3 separate regions of the Homo sapiens genome follow, and all the other regions are linked to region 1. Evidence: promoter capture Hi-C in 16 types of primary human blood cells and fetal thymus (Javierre and others, 2016). All regions are on one chromosome and are shown on one strand. The core of a region is centred on a gene start or on the middle of the fragment in contact, and the rest is flanking DNA. Distances in the headings are between cores, read along the strand shown. Region 1 holds the start of LINC01589 (long intergenic non-protein coding RNA 1589). Region 2 has its middle 11 kb from the start of WNT7B. Region 3 overlaps LOC105373071.

What was found. Contacts are between HindIII fragments. The CHiCAGO score rates a contact against its expected background, and 5 or more counts as called.
Region 2: a contact is called between a fragment that was not itself captured here and the fragment with the promoter of LINC01589 in region 1, in 9 of 17 cell types (M2 macrophages, M1 macrophages, endothelial precursors and 6 more). The highest score is 13.7, in M2 macrophages.
Region 3: a fragment that was not itself captured here is called in contact with the fragment with the promoter of LINC01589 in region 1 in 3 of 17 cell types (endothelial precursors, erythroblasts and megakaryocytes); the score reaches 9.1 in endothelial precursors.

The regions. Positions count from the first base shown.
Region 1 is chr22:45,603,860-45,608,166 of GRCh38, reverse strand. It overlaps LINC01589 (long intergenic non-protein coding RNA 1589), which reads left to right and starts at 2,520. Exons shown (of 2, transcript NR_131244.1): 1 at 2,520-2,766; 2 at 3,409-3,735. The HindIII fragment of the contact is 5,695 bases long and covers 1-4,307 here.
Region 2 is chr22:45,985,726-45,990,032 of GRCh38, reverse strand. No RefSeq gene overlaps it. Among named protein-coding and RNA genes, the nearest start is that of WNT7B, 11 kb to the right of the region's middle. RefSeq lists enhancers at 2,172-2,672, 2,673-3,173. The HindIII fragment of the contact is 8,373 bases long and covers 1-4,307 here.
Region 3 is chr22:45,866,885-45,871,191 of GRCh38, reverse strand. It overlaps LOC105373071, which reads right to left. Exons shown (of 6, transcript XR_007068133.1): 1 at 565-4,307. Among named protein-coding and RNA genes, the nearest start is that of WNT7B, 110 kb to the left of the region's middle. RefSeq lists an enhancer at 3,275-3,849. The HindIII fragment of the contact is 1,074 bases long and covers 1,246-2,319 here.

The sequences.
Region 1 (4,307 bases), core at 1,271-3,770:
TCATATTTGGCTCTGCTAACTGCGTAGATTTCCCCATGTAGGATGTTAGGACTTGACTGTTTCCCAAAGTGGCTGGCTCATGTCGCTGTCATATTTGGCTCTGCTAACTGCGTAGATTTCCCCATGTAGGATGTTAGGACTTGACTTTCCCACCGAGGACCTTAGAAGGGGCGTTCAATGGCCATTTCTGCTGCGACATTTCAGTAGCTTCTGGGTCCCACCCTCCAGGCAACCTCTTCTTCCTCAGCCTGGTTCTGTGACCTTGTGCCCCCTGCCACTCCTCCATTCTTAGCTCCACATGGGGCACCCACATCTTCCCCCTCCCAGAGCCCCCTCCCCAACTTCCCACCCCTGTCTGTCCCGCTTTTTTTTTTTTTTTTTTTTTGAGACAGAGTCTCATTCTGTTGCCCAGGCTGGAGTGCAATGGCGCGATCTTGGCTCACTGCAAACTCCACCTCTCAGGTTCAAGCGATTCTCCTGCCTCAGCCTCCTGAGTAGCTGGGATCACAGGCACCCACCATCTCGCCTGGCTAATTTTTGTATTTTTTTTAGTAGAGATGGGGTTTCACCATGTTGGCCAGGTTGGTCTCCAACTCCTGACCTCAGGTGATCCGCCCGCCTCGGTTTCCCAAAGTGCTGGGATTACAGGCGTGAGCCACCACGCCCGGCCAGCTCTCTGCAGACACCATCTGGGCGTCCTACACTTCAGTTCAATTCTGACGCTGGCCACCCAGAGTTAGCACAGGCCCGAGAGGATATGGGCTCCGTCCTGCAAGACCGTCCCTACTTCAGATGTCAGTTGCAAAGATTGGGCGCTCAGGTTACCCACACTTCCGTCTGACTTGGCTACACATCAGGGGTCCCCAGAACGCCCTCCTCGGGTTTGGTAATTGGCTAAAATGGCTCACAGAACTCAGGGAAACACTTTGGTTACATGTATAGGTTTCTAAGACCTTATACAAACTGGGCCCATTAGTCTTTGCTCCCTGATACTATCTGATACCATCTGGTCTCATTCCTTCCTGAATGGAATAATTCCTTCCTCATTCATTATCACAAGGACAATAATGTCCTTGTAAAGGACATTATTGATGATACAGATGAACAGGAAGACGAAGAGGCACACAGGGCGAGCTCTGGTGGGGCCCGGGCACAGGAGCTTCTGTCCCCGTGGAGTTGGGGGGCGCCACCCTCCCAGCATGCGGATGTGTCCACCAGCCCAGAAGCTCTCTGGATCCTGTAGTTCAGGGATTTTTACGGAGGCTTCATTACTTACGCGTGATGGATTATTAGCTCAATCTCCAGCCCCTCTCCCTTTCCTGGAGGGTGGGGGTGGAGCCAAAAGCTCCAGGCTCCTCGTCGAATCTGGGTCTTTCTGGTGCTCAGCCCCCAACCCCACCCAGGAGCCACTGAGAGTCACCTCATTAAACCAAAGACAAGGGATTAGGAGCTTTGTGTCAGGAACCCGGAAAGAGACCAAATAGAAGTGAATGTTTCTTATTATGTCACACAGCCACACCACGAGGTTGGTGCAGGAGCCCTTGAAGGAAGCCCTTGGAGGATCTGAGACCAAGAGGGCCTGATCAGATCGGAGTTTTGGAAATGTAACCTGGCAGCCTAGGGGAGGACTGGACAGAGTGGGGAGGACAGAGGGGAACTGATTCACCAGAGGGAGGGCGTGAAGTGAGTGAATGAATGAGTGAACCAATGAATGAACAAGATGGGAAGGAAGGAGTGAGACCAGATGGTATCAGATAGTATCAGGGAGCAAAGACTAACGGGCCCAGTTTGTATGAGGTCTTAGAAACCAGATCAAGGAGGTGGGATCAACGGTGCTTTCCTCTAAAGAAGCACATTTCCGGCCGGGCGCGGTGGCTCACGCCTGTAGACCCAGCACTTTGGGAGGCCGAGGCGGGTGGATCACCTGAGGTCAGGAGTTCGAGACCAGCCTGGCCAACACGGTGAAAACCCATCTCTACTAAAAATACAAAAATTAGCTGGGCATGGTGGGGGGTGCCTGTAATCCACACTACACAGGAGGCTGAGGCAGAGAGAATGGTTTGAACCCCCGGGAGGCAGAGACTGCAGTGAGCTGAGATCACGCCACTGCACTCCAGCCTGGGCGACAGAGCGAGACCCTGTCTCAAAAAAAAAAAAAAAAAAAAGAAGCAGCAGCAGCAGCAAATTTCCAGGAAGAAGCAGGCTATGGAGATCAGGGCAGGCAAAGGACAGAATTAGGTTAGTGCATCAACTGGGTCCAACCAGGAAGACACATGTGTTTATCTCCTGCAGCACCAAAAACCACCCAGAAGACAGCTCAGTGGACCCTAGCAGTGGATTCTACATGTCTGCAGAAAATGAGCAGAAAACAAGCCAGAGTTACAGCTATCTGCAGAGAGACTACATCCAGGAGGTCTGAAGACTGAAAGTAATCACTGCAGTCTGACTTCTACCACTGACACCCTTCCCATACATAATTTAAATGTGTAATTATAATACCATTGCTTAGTTAACGGACACCAATTCGTGCAGGAGCTGCCACAAACAGTAATAAACCAGCTGTGTTAGAAATGGATCACTTATCAGTGCGTGCCCAAGCCTCCTAATGCCTCATGATGTTTAATAATTAAATTGTGACACCTTGAACCCGCAGCTGACACCATGAATCACAGTGGAATTCTCCAAATGGAATGCAGCCACACCTCAGCTTCTGTGCTGCGTGCTGCCACTGAGGACATTCGATACCATTGAAGCCGTCAGATAGAGGTGGGTTATTTCCCTGTGCCCTGCACCTCCCTTCTGGCAAGTCCCTGGGAAGCAGTGGCCACAGATGAGCTGCTGCTCTCTTAAAGACTGAGATCAGGCCGGGCGCGGTGGCTCATGCCTGTAATCCCAGCACTTTGGGAGGCTGAGGCAGGCAGATCACCTGAGGTTGGGAGTTCGAGACCAGCCTGGCCAACATGACGAAACCCTGTCTCTACTAAAAAATACAAAAAATATTAGCTGGGTGTGGTGGTACGCGCTTGTAATCCCAGCTACTTGGGAGGCTGAGGCACAAGAGTTTCTTGAACCCAGGAGGCAGAGGTTATATGGAGTCTCGCTCTGTCACCCAGGCTGGAGTGCAGTGGCTCAATCTCGGCTCACTGCAACCTCATTTCAGGAGATGAGACCGGCATCCTTGTGGGAGAAGATGGCCCTGAGCTGGGCATGGCAGAAGGGCTGCGGAGTGTGTGTGTGTGTGTGTGTGGTGTGTGTGTGTGTGCACACATGCGCACATGTGTGTGTGAGAGAATGTGTGTGTGTTGGAGATGATTACCGAAGCCTTCCTGGCACATAGTAGGTCTTTTTTCCCACAAAGAGTAATGTGATTATTGGTAGTAATGGTGACTGTCACCGTGCTTCTCACAGGCCGTATTTCAAAAGGTCTACGGTGGCTCCGTTTCTTCTCTGAGACTTCAAAAGTCCTTCAAGAGTGAGTTCCCGTCTCATTCTATGTCCAGGATGAAGACGGATGGCCTCTTGGCACCCATCTCTTTGGCATGAACGATGTGGGGAAACGTGAATGGAAATGGGGAACTGTTGCTGGCACCCAGAAGTCATCCGGTCCGGATGAAGCCAAGTCACAAGGAAGTGCCTCCAATTATTCTTCATAAATTCCTCTGAGGTTTCACTTCTTGTCCACACAAGACTTTAATAAAATGTGGCATCTAACTGAATAAAGACTATCCTTTCGGGTGTGTGTGTCATGACAGTACTATTTATGGAGGACCTCCTGTGTAGCAGTTCTTGCACTGTTTTACGTAATCATCCCCTTTCATCCTAACAATCACTCCTGTGAAGTATGTGTCCTTATTTTCATTTCGTTGTAGAGAAAACCAAGGCTCTGAGACATTAAGCAATGTGCCCAAGGACACACAGCTAGTAAGTGGCTGGATTTGAGCGCAAGCCTACAAGAAACTGTAAGTTTCTTATTTGTATTTATTAATTCATCATATTGTCATTTCTTCAAAATGCAACTGAATCTCATAAAATGTCAGTGGCAGAATCTAGGTGGAAGGTGCCCTGGTATTCACTGTAAAATTCCTTCAACTCGGCTGTATATTTGAAAATTTTCATGTTACAATATTAGGAAAAAAACCCTTGATTTCCAGGTGTTTTTTCACCTGGACAAACTTGAGAACTTTGGAAAAGCTGGCTTACCTCCTCGAATTCTAGTTGGCTGGCTTGGCTGGGTTGGCTGGGTGGGCCCTGGCACCCTCCACTCAATGCCCACCTGCATGTTAAAACGGGTCCTGCTAGGACCCTGG
Region 2 (4,307 bases), core at 738-3,237, 380 kb before region 1:
CCTAGGCGGCCCCTGCAGGGAAGGAAGATTGTATGGTCCAGCCAGGGACCCCAGGCCGTGGGTCTGATGCCAGATCTGCCAGCTGTAGTCACCCAGTAGGAGATGGCGAAACAGCCCTGGGGAACCCCACTGTCAGCACCAGAGTTCCTGGCTCCTGGGGCTAGCATGCTGGGGCTCAAACCCCTGCTTGATGACTGTGTGACCCTGGCAGCCTCCCTGGGTCTCGGCCTTCCCACCCTTAAAGCAAGAGGTTCAGACCAGATCAGTGGTTCTTGGTCGTTCATGGGTCCTGTGTGGTGTGGGGGAAGCAGGCCAGTTTCCAGGCGTCGATGCCATCAGTGGTCAGCCCTGGGGCTGTGACTCTTGGTGCCCAAGACTAAAACAGACACCCCATGACTTTCAGGAGATCACCCTGACAGGTAGGATCGTGGCTGCAGGTTTGCTTAAAACGAAATTGTTTATTTGGGCTGTTCTGATTCCTGCAAGCAGGAGCTCAGATGTGCCTGTGGCTCAGCTTAAGCCTGGCCACCCGGTCCCTGTCCTGGGGGTGTCCACGAAACAGGATGAATAGAATCTGGGTCCTCCACACCAAAAAGTCCAACGCTCATATCTTAGACCAGTGGTTCTCAACTGGAGCCAATTCTGCTCCCCGGGAGACATTTGGCAATGTCTGGGGATACGTTTTGTTGTCATACCTCAGGGGATGCTGTGTGCTAAAAGCGTCTAGTGGGCAGAGGCCAGAGACGCTGCTGAACATCCTACCGGGCACAGACGGTCCCCACCACAGGGAACGATCCTGCCCTGAATGCCCATGGTGCAGCCACAAGAAGCCCCAGCGGAGACAGGCAGCTGAGTGCTCGGTGTCGGGCCCTTGCCTAGAAGGATGAGGTCCAAATGGTGGCCTGGCTTTCGGTGGCCTTTGTGGCCTAACCCAGCCTCAGCCCTGGGTGCTGGGCACTCTGGCATCATGTGCTAGGTTAGTCCCACTGGGTCGTGGCACTTTTAGAGGGTGGGCTTTATGCAGGGAACTCTGGAAGGCTCAGATTCAGCCTTGGGCATCCATCTTCTCCCCATGGGGGACTCAAGCAGGAAATCAAAGGACTCTTCATTCTGTGGTGGGAGGCACTGGAAAGGGCCTTCCCTCCTCCTCCCTCAAAGCTCAAACCTGGATCTTCCACCAGCAGTCATCAGTGCAGGGTGGAGGTCAAAGTGACCCTCATGGAAGGAGGAGGTAAAGGACTGCCCAGGGCACATTGCTTTTGCCCACCAGCAAACCCAGCTTAGCCAGGGTCCTGGAGCTGCCCCATCAGGGCGGTGCTGGTCGGTTGCCACAGGCGAGGAGTGATTGTATGTTGGGGTCAGGGAGGGCCAGGAGCATCCCTCTCCAGACTCAGGTCCTTGGCTCTCCTACCGAGGAAGGGGTTCATGGACAAGCGCAGACCAGGCCTCACCTGGACTCCAGATCCTCATCTGCAGAGATGGGGGCTCGCCCCTGCCTCAGCCTCACTCAGCACACCTGGCCCTCATCACCTCCTCTCTCGGCTGACTGCCAGGCTCAGGCAGCCTGGAGTTTTGGTCAAGGTGCAGCTGGATGTGCTGGGCAGCCTGACCTCAGCTCTCCTGGTCCTGGAGAGGACTTTTGTTAGAGACACAGAGCATTTGTTTTAACATAGAAGATGTGATGTGAGTTTGTCTATGAGGCAGTCCCGAGCCTCCCTGTCAAATGCCTCACCTCCTGGGTTCATGACCCTCACAGAGGTCAGAAGTCACAGGGAGCCTACACATTTCATTCCCAGTGAACCCATGCTAGCTCCTGGTGTTACAGGATCTTTTGGGTGTCGTCTTTTTAGCTGGAAACCTCTGTGACCAGTGGCGTCTTTGCCTGAGTTTTTGTCCTGCATCCAGGAAGAATGAGGTATGCAGACAAGTAGAGGGTAAGCAAGACAAAGAGGAGCTTTATTGAGTATTAGAACAGCTCAGAGGAGACCTGCAGTGGGTAGCTCCTCTTTCTAGGCAGGTTGTCCCATCGAGTGTTCAGCTCTCCGCAGAGAGGAAGCCCCAGAGAGGGTAGTGCCTCTCTGCAGGCAGGTTATTCTGACATCTCCTCAGGTCTCTGAAGCTCTCAGCAGAGAGGGTAGCTCCTCTCAGCAGCTGATCAACTTGTAATCTGCTCAGCTCTGGCTGAGCCCAGGGTTTTTATGGGCCTCAGAGGGGAGAAAGTGCATGCAGATTGGTCCATGGGTAGCCATGGGCAGGCCCAGAAAAGGCACCACAAATTCCCATTCAGGTTGGTGGGACTGGAAGCCCAGCCTCCAGCCTTCAGGCCCTCCCTGGCCCTAAAGGTGGAGCCTCACGGGGGACCCGTCCCCTTCCTCCCAGGAATGTGCCTGCCTCCTGCTGCCATTCATGGCACCAGGGCTTGGCCCTGACTTTGCTTTGAGATCAAAGCAGGCACTGACGGCAGGGAAAAGCCAGGCAGTGGGAACAGGCACTTCCAAGCCTGCAAGGGCAGTGGGGGCCTTCCCAGGTCCCTGAGTGCAGAAATTCCTGAGTCTGCAGCTACAGTTTTGGTGGCTGCAGCTGTGCCTGGGAGGGTAGGGCTCTTGCCTGCTCCTGTCCCAAGAGCACAGGGATGCTCAGATCTGCAGCCACAATTTGGGCGGCTGCAGCCCCACCTAGGAGGGTGGGGCTCCGGCCTGCTCCATGGAGTATGCGGCCCTGGCCATGCCTCCCTGCTGCAGTCTGTGTGATGGCAGTGGGAGGCCATCTTGGAGCAGCCACTGCCGTCACTGGTGCTCACCCCCTCCTTCTGCTCCCTGGGCTCTTGGATATCCCTTAGCTTCTGCCCTGAATTGGGTCAAGCTCCTGGATTTGCCTTTGGGGGCTCCTCATTCTCCCTCCAGAAATGCCAGAGCTCTGTCTGCCCTTCTCTGGATGAGGGGTCCTGGTGGGCACACACAGGCTCCTGCTGGAAATCATCTGACGCCCGCAGCCTCCTCCCCAGGTGGCCCCTGCTCCCCATCCCCAGTGGGGACTCTGTCCCTCCTGGGAGGGACTGCTTCTCCCCTAGGAGCCCTCCACCTCCCTTGGCAAGGGCTGGGAACCCCCTAGGGGCTCAGGGTGTACACTGAGAGGACTTGGGGTGTGGACCTTCCCACGGAACTTTCTGCAGTTTACACGTTTGCCAGAACTATCATTTGCCAATTGTGCTTGATCTCTGGAGCCACCTGGGTGTTGATTAAACATTCAGATTCCTAGCCCCTTCCCTGAGATATTTCGGAGAAGTGGGCCTGTGGTAATGCTAAAAATTGGCTGGTCAGGCAAGCTGGGGACACTCCATCCAGGGCCCACCTCTGGTGCCCCCCTCTCTCAAAATCTTCAGTAGCTCCCCAGTGACCATAAGTAACGTCCTGCTCCTTAGCCTGGCACTCCGGCTGTCTGTGCGTGTGCCCTTGCCTCCCCCTTTCCTCTGCTCCATAACCTGCTGGGCCTCCAGGAGCCATTGCTCACAGGGCTCCATCATTTCAACTTCTGCTCCCCATCGCCACATGGCCAAGCCCTCCTGTGTTTGTTTTATAGTGTGTATATATTACTACGAACTGAGCGGCTTACAACCACATCTATTTATTAGCTCACAGTTCTGTACTTAAGAACTCCAGCCTGGCGTGGATGCCTGCACTGCTCAGGGTCTCCCAAGGCTGCAATCAAGGCATCCCAGGGCTGGATCTTATCTGGAGGCTTTGGAAGGGATCCTCTTCCAAGCTCATTTGGGCTGTTGGTAGAATTCAGTTCCCTGTGGCTGTAGGACTGAGGTGCCCATTTCCTGGTCAGCTGTCAGCCAGGGGCCACTCTCAGCTCAGAGAGCTCCTACATTCCTCACTTCAAGGCCCCTCCATCTCCGAAGCTAGCGATGACAGGGCTTCTCATGCTTCACAGCCCTCTGAATGGCCCTTTGGCCACAAGTCAGTAAAAACTGCGCCTGGAAAGGGCTTGCGTGATGGGGCCAGGCTCACTGGGAAAAATCTCTGTTTGACGAACTCAAAGGCAACTGTATTAGTCAGGGTTCTCTAGAGGGACAGAACTAATAGGATGTATGTATATAAGAAAGGTAGTTTATTAAGGAGAATTGAGTCAGATGATCACAAGGTGAAGCCCCACGATAGGCCGTCTGCAAGTTGAGGAGCAAGAAAGCCAGTGGTAGATCAGTTGGAGTCTCAAAACCTCAAAAGTAGGGAAGCCAACAGTGCAGCCTTCAGTCTCCAGCCTGAGACCCCCTGGCAAACTGCTTGTGTAAGTTCAAGAGTCCA
Region 3 (4,307 bases), core at 533-3,032, 260 kb before region 1:
TTAGTAGAGACGGGGTTTCACCATGTTAGCCAGGATGGCCTTGATCTCCTGACCTCGTGATCCTCCCGCCTCGGCCTCCCAAAGTGCTGGGATTACAGGCATGAGCCACCACGCCCGGCCTGTACTTTTAGTAGAGATGGGGTTTCACCATGTTGGCCAGGATGGTCTCAATCTCCTGACCTCGTGATCTGCCTGCCTCAGCCTCCCAAAATGTTGGGATAACTGGCGTGAGCCACTGTGCCCGGCCTGTTCTTTTTAATCCTTTAGGATGATTCTCTCCACAAGCCTCAATTATTTTCCTCCCATATTTGCAGTGATCTGTATTCTGGGGGACACTGGAAAGGCACCCCTGCACGTCTCTCACTTCCCTCCCTGCATAACTCTCTTTTCTCTGAAACTCTGTCCAGTGAACTCCAGCTGCCTTGATCTTCCTGGACTCCCAGCCCCACCTCTGGAACTTGGGAGTCTTCTGGGATCTGTCTGGCTTCCCCCTGCCTGCACCATGGCCGGGGGAGAAATCTCCCTCTCTCAAGGCAGAAATGTGGGGCAATTAGAGGGGCTCACCTTGCTTGTTTCCTTTCTCTCTGGGATCACTGCATTTAATTTTGCCTGATGTCGGGGTCTTGGAAGCCACTGTCTCATGTATTCTGTCTGATTATTTCAGTTGCTGCAGGTGTGGTAAAGAAGCCTGTTACTCCATTTTGGCCAGAAGCAGAAGTGCTCTCTCGTTTTAAATCAAGGATTGGCCACCTCCTACTTGCAAGGCGCGTGACCGCCACACAAAGCCAGACAAATGTCAGCCCTCTCCTGACTACAACTCCACCGAAGGGATAATGGATTGGTGGTGGTAGTGATGGGGAAAACTGCAGACAATAATTCTTACAGAAAGAGAATAAAATGTGATTTGACACAGGTTACTAGGTACCAGGGCTGGCCAGGTTCCCTGGACAGAGGCAAGCAAGCCAGACGCAACCTCCTGGTGGGATGCCCACGGCTTTGTTCATGCAGACGAAAAGCCTGGTGTTCCCCATCTCTGCGATGCCAAGGCTGAGAGAGCCTGGAACCCCTGGCTTGTGGTTCTGATTGCTGTTCAGAGAGCAGTTTCCCTTTGAACTGGAGAAAGAGACTGACAAAGGTGCCACGCGCCAGGAAGAAGGGGGAGAACAAATTTCCCCAGGTGAGGGCAAAACAAAATAAGAGCCAGTTGAGGGGTTGATTGTGATTCAAGCTGCATCAAGCCAAGCTTGGAATTATGCTAACTACAGCCATGGTCATTACCACCCTGGTCCCTGAGAGCCACTATGCTCTGAGCATTCCCAGGGTTACCTTGTTTGGTCTACATGGTGACCAGTAGGGTCGCTTGTAGCCTTTCTATTTGGGAGAGGCTGGTGCTTGTCTGGGAGGAGGAACTCTCCCTCACCATGGCTGAGCAGGCACAGTGGAGCCAGCCCTGCCCTTGGGGTGGGCAGCAGCAGGGGCTGCAAGCCGTGTTGCCCTCTGGGCAGGCAAGGTCCTCCTTCCTGCAAATGAGATGCTACACAAGAGGGTCTTGACAGGAAGGGTCCGCCCAGGGTTCAGTCTCCTGTTGGGCTGCAAGGAGTTGTTAGCAAAGTTGAGGACCCCGGCTCCATAACCGGTGGCAGCACTAGCAAGTGTGTGTGTGTGTGTGTGTGCGCGCGCAAGTGTGCACGTGTGAGTGTGAGCATGTGTGGTAGCAGGGACTCCCAGAGCTCCGAGTCCAAGGCTGAGACTGGGCCCGCCGATGCTCTCCAGTTCTACAACTGTCACAAGAATGTGGCAGCCAGGGCTAAGCTGGGGAGCTAATCCGGCTTTGATGCTGACCCTCTGGCCATCCAGGGCGCTGAGGTCAGGACCACCCGCTCCGGCCCTGGATGAAATGCAGTGGGAGTGGAAGGCTGGAGTGCCCTGGGACTGACGAAGACTCGCCCCTGGGACCACCTTGTTGCAACTCCTGCTTCTGAGAACGGAGCACGGGGCCGTCCATGTGCTATTCACTCAGCAGCTGCTTGCCAGGCACCTGGCATGTGCCAGGGCTGCCCAAGGCACAGGGATGCAGTGGTGAGCAAAGGGACCCACATACTACCCTTGTGAGCCAGATAGTGCATTTAATAGACCCTGGGCCAGCCAGATGGCTGCAAGTCCAAGACAACCGGGAGGCAGGGCAGGGGAGACAGGCCACTGCAGGAAGGAGGCTGCAGGTGCAATTTCATGGAGAAGGTGACATTTTAGCAGACTGGGAGGAGGTGTGGGAATGAGGTGGCAGATGTCTGAGGGAGGAGCGTCCGGGTGAAGGAAGCTTCTGGTGCCTTGGGCCTGAAGCAGGAGGAAGCTTTGTCTGAGTGAGGAGCACCTCAGCGGCCGCGGCGGCAGAAGGGGAAGCCAGGGCAGTGCCCCTTCTGTGGGCTCCAGGAGCACCGGGCTGTGCGCTGAGCAAGCTGAGAGTCTTTGGAGGGTTTTGGCAGAAGAATGATGTGATTTGACTTAGGTTCAGAAAGGATGATGGGTGGGGACTTATGGTGGCCACACCAGGGGCAGGGAGCCCAGGGAAGGTGCAGCCGTGACCATCAGGAAGAGCAAAGGCAGCTTGCCTTGGCTTAGCCCGGGAGGCCGGGTTCTGGCCATGTCTGGAAGGGAGAGCCATGGGATTTTCTGACGGAATAAACGTGAGACTGGAGAGAAAGAGGGGAGTCAGGGACAAGTGTAAAGTTTGCGTGGGGAGAAAAGGGAGGAAAGGAGTTGTCATTTTCTGAGTTTGGGAAGTTGCGGGCGGGGACAGGTCTGGGCTGGGGCGGGTGCCAGGCGAGGCATCCGGCTTGGCCTGGAGTTGGATGTAGGAGTCTGGAGCTCAGGGCACCGTCCAGGCTGCACATATTTGGGGGTCATAGGAGAATTATTGTGTCTGAAGAACTGGATGGGTTTCCAGGGAATGTAGAAGAGAGAAACCCGGTGGAGAGCACAGGGGAGAAGCCGCCAGTGGGGAAGGCAGGGAACCCAGCAGGAGGGCAGGAGAAGGAGGAGTCGCAGCCAGACTGAGGGACATGAAAGGCTTCAGAGGAGGGGCTGTGGGGTGGGAGAAGGGGGATCCCAATGGGAGACGCAAGTGGATGGCACTTGAAGGGCTTTACTTTGAGAAAGAGCAGAGACACGCAGGGCTGTGGAGTGGTGGGGGGCCCGGGGGGGCGCAGAGATCCAAGGGGCTCGGCTGGCAGCCAGCTCGGCCGGGGGTGGGCAGTGAGTCTGGGGCAGGGGGCTTCCGGTGCTGCTGTTTCCAGAGCTGGAAGGAGGGGACAGGGAGGGGACAGGCGCGCAGGGGCGGCCGCAATAGCGTGGACGGAGGCGCGAGGGCTTGGGGACCGTGGTCACGCCTGTGATCACGGCTGCCAAGGAACGCGCGAGTGGATAGATTTAACCCGGGAGGAGACCGCGTGGGGCTGCGGAAAGGGCCCGGGGCCGCGGATGCGTGCAGGATAGGGGCGCGCTGGGGAGGAGGGCGCGCCGGGCCGCGGGCAGAGGCCGGAGGCGGCGCTTGGCCGGACGCGTTCAGGCCGTTCCCTGCTCAGCAGAGGCCGAGCGAGGGTCGGGGAGCCGCTGTCTGTGCCTAAGCTTCCTGCTCTGTGAAATGCAAACAACACTCGCCCTGACCTCCCGGGATGCGACAGCTCTGGAGGGCGCTGGGGAGGGTCCGCCTCATTGTCGTCGTGGAGAAGGGAGCGCTGGGTGCTGAGGCCCGGGGCTGCGGGACACCCCTGGGCGCGGGAGAATCTCCGAGACCCGCGACGGGAGCGGCCTGGGCGCGTGGAGCGGAGGTGGTGGCCAGGCCGGGCGGCGGAGGTGCTGGGGGTCGAGGACTGGGCCGGGCCATCCCGCAGAGGGCAGTGCAGGATCGGCCCTGGCCACACGCGCCCTCCGGCTGCCAGGGCCGCTCCGCCGCGCCGCGCCCTCTCCCGAGGCCCCAGCGGTTCTCCAGCACCAGGGGCGGCGCGGAGCTGCTGTTCTCGCCTTGGACTGTCACAGCAGCCCCGGGACGCGGCCGATCAGCTCCGCTTCATAGAGAAGGAAACTGAGGCCCCGAGAGGTCAAGCACCTCGCCCCAGGCCGCACAGCTAGAAACGGGGAGGCCTGGCTGCGACCCCGCCCTCCGCAGTGGGGACGCGTGGGCTCCTGACCCTACGAATAGCAGGTTGCTCCTGACCCCGCGCCGCCGGCTTCCTCAGGGCCCTCGCAGTCCGCCGCTTTGTCGCCCGTCTGGCCCCGCGCCTGCAGGGGTCCCTCCCGCGCTGCAGGAC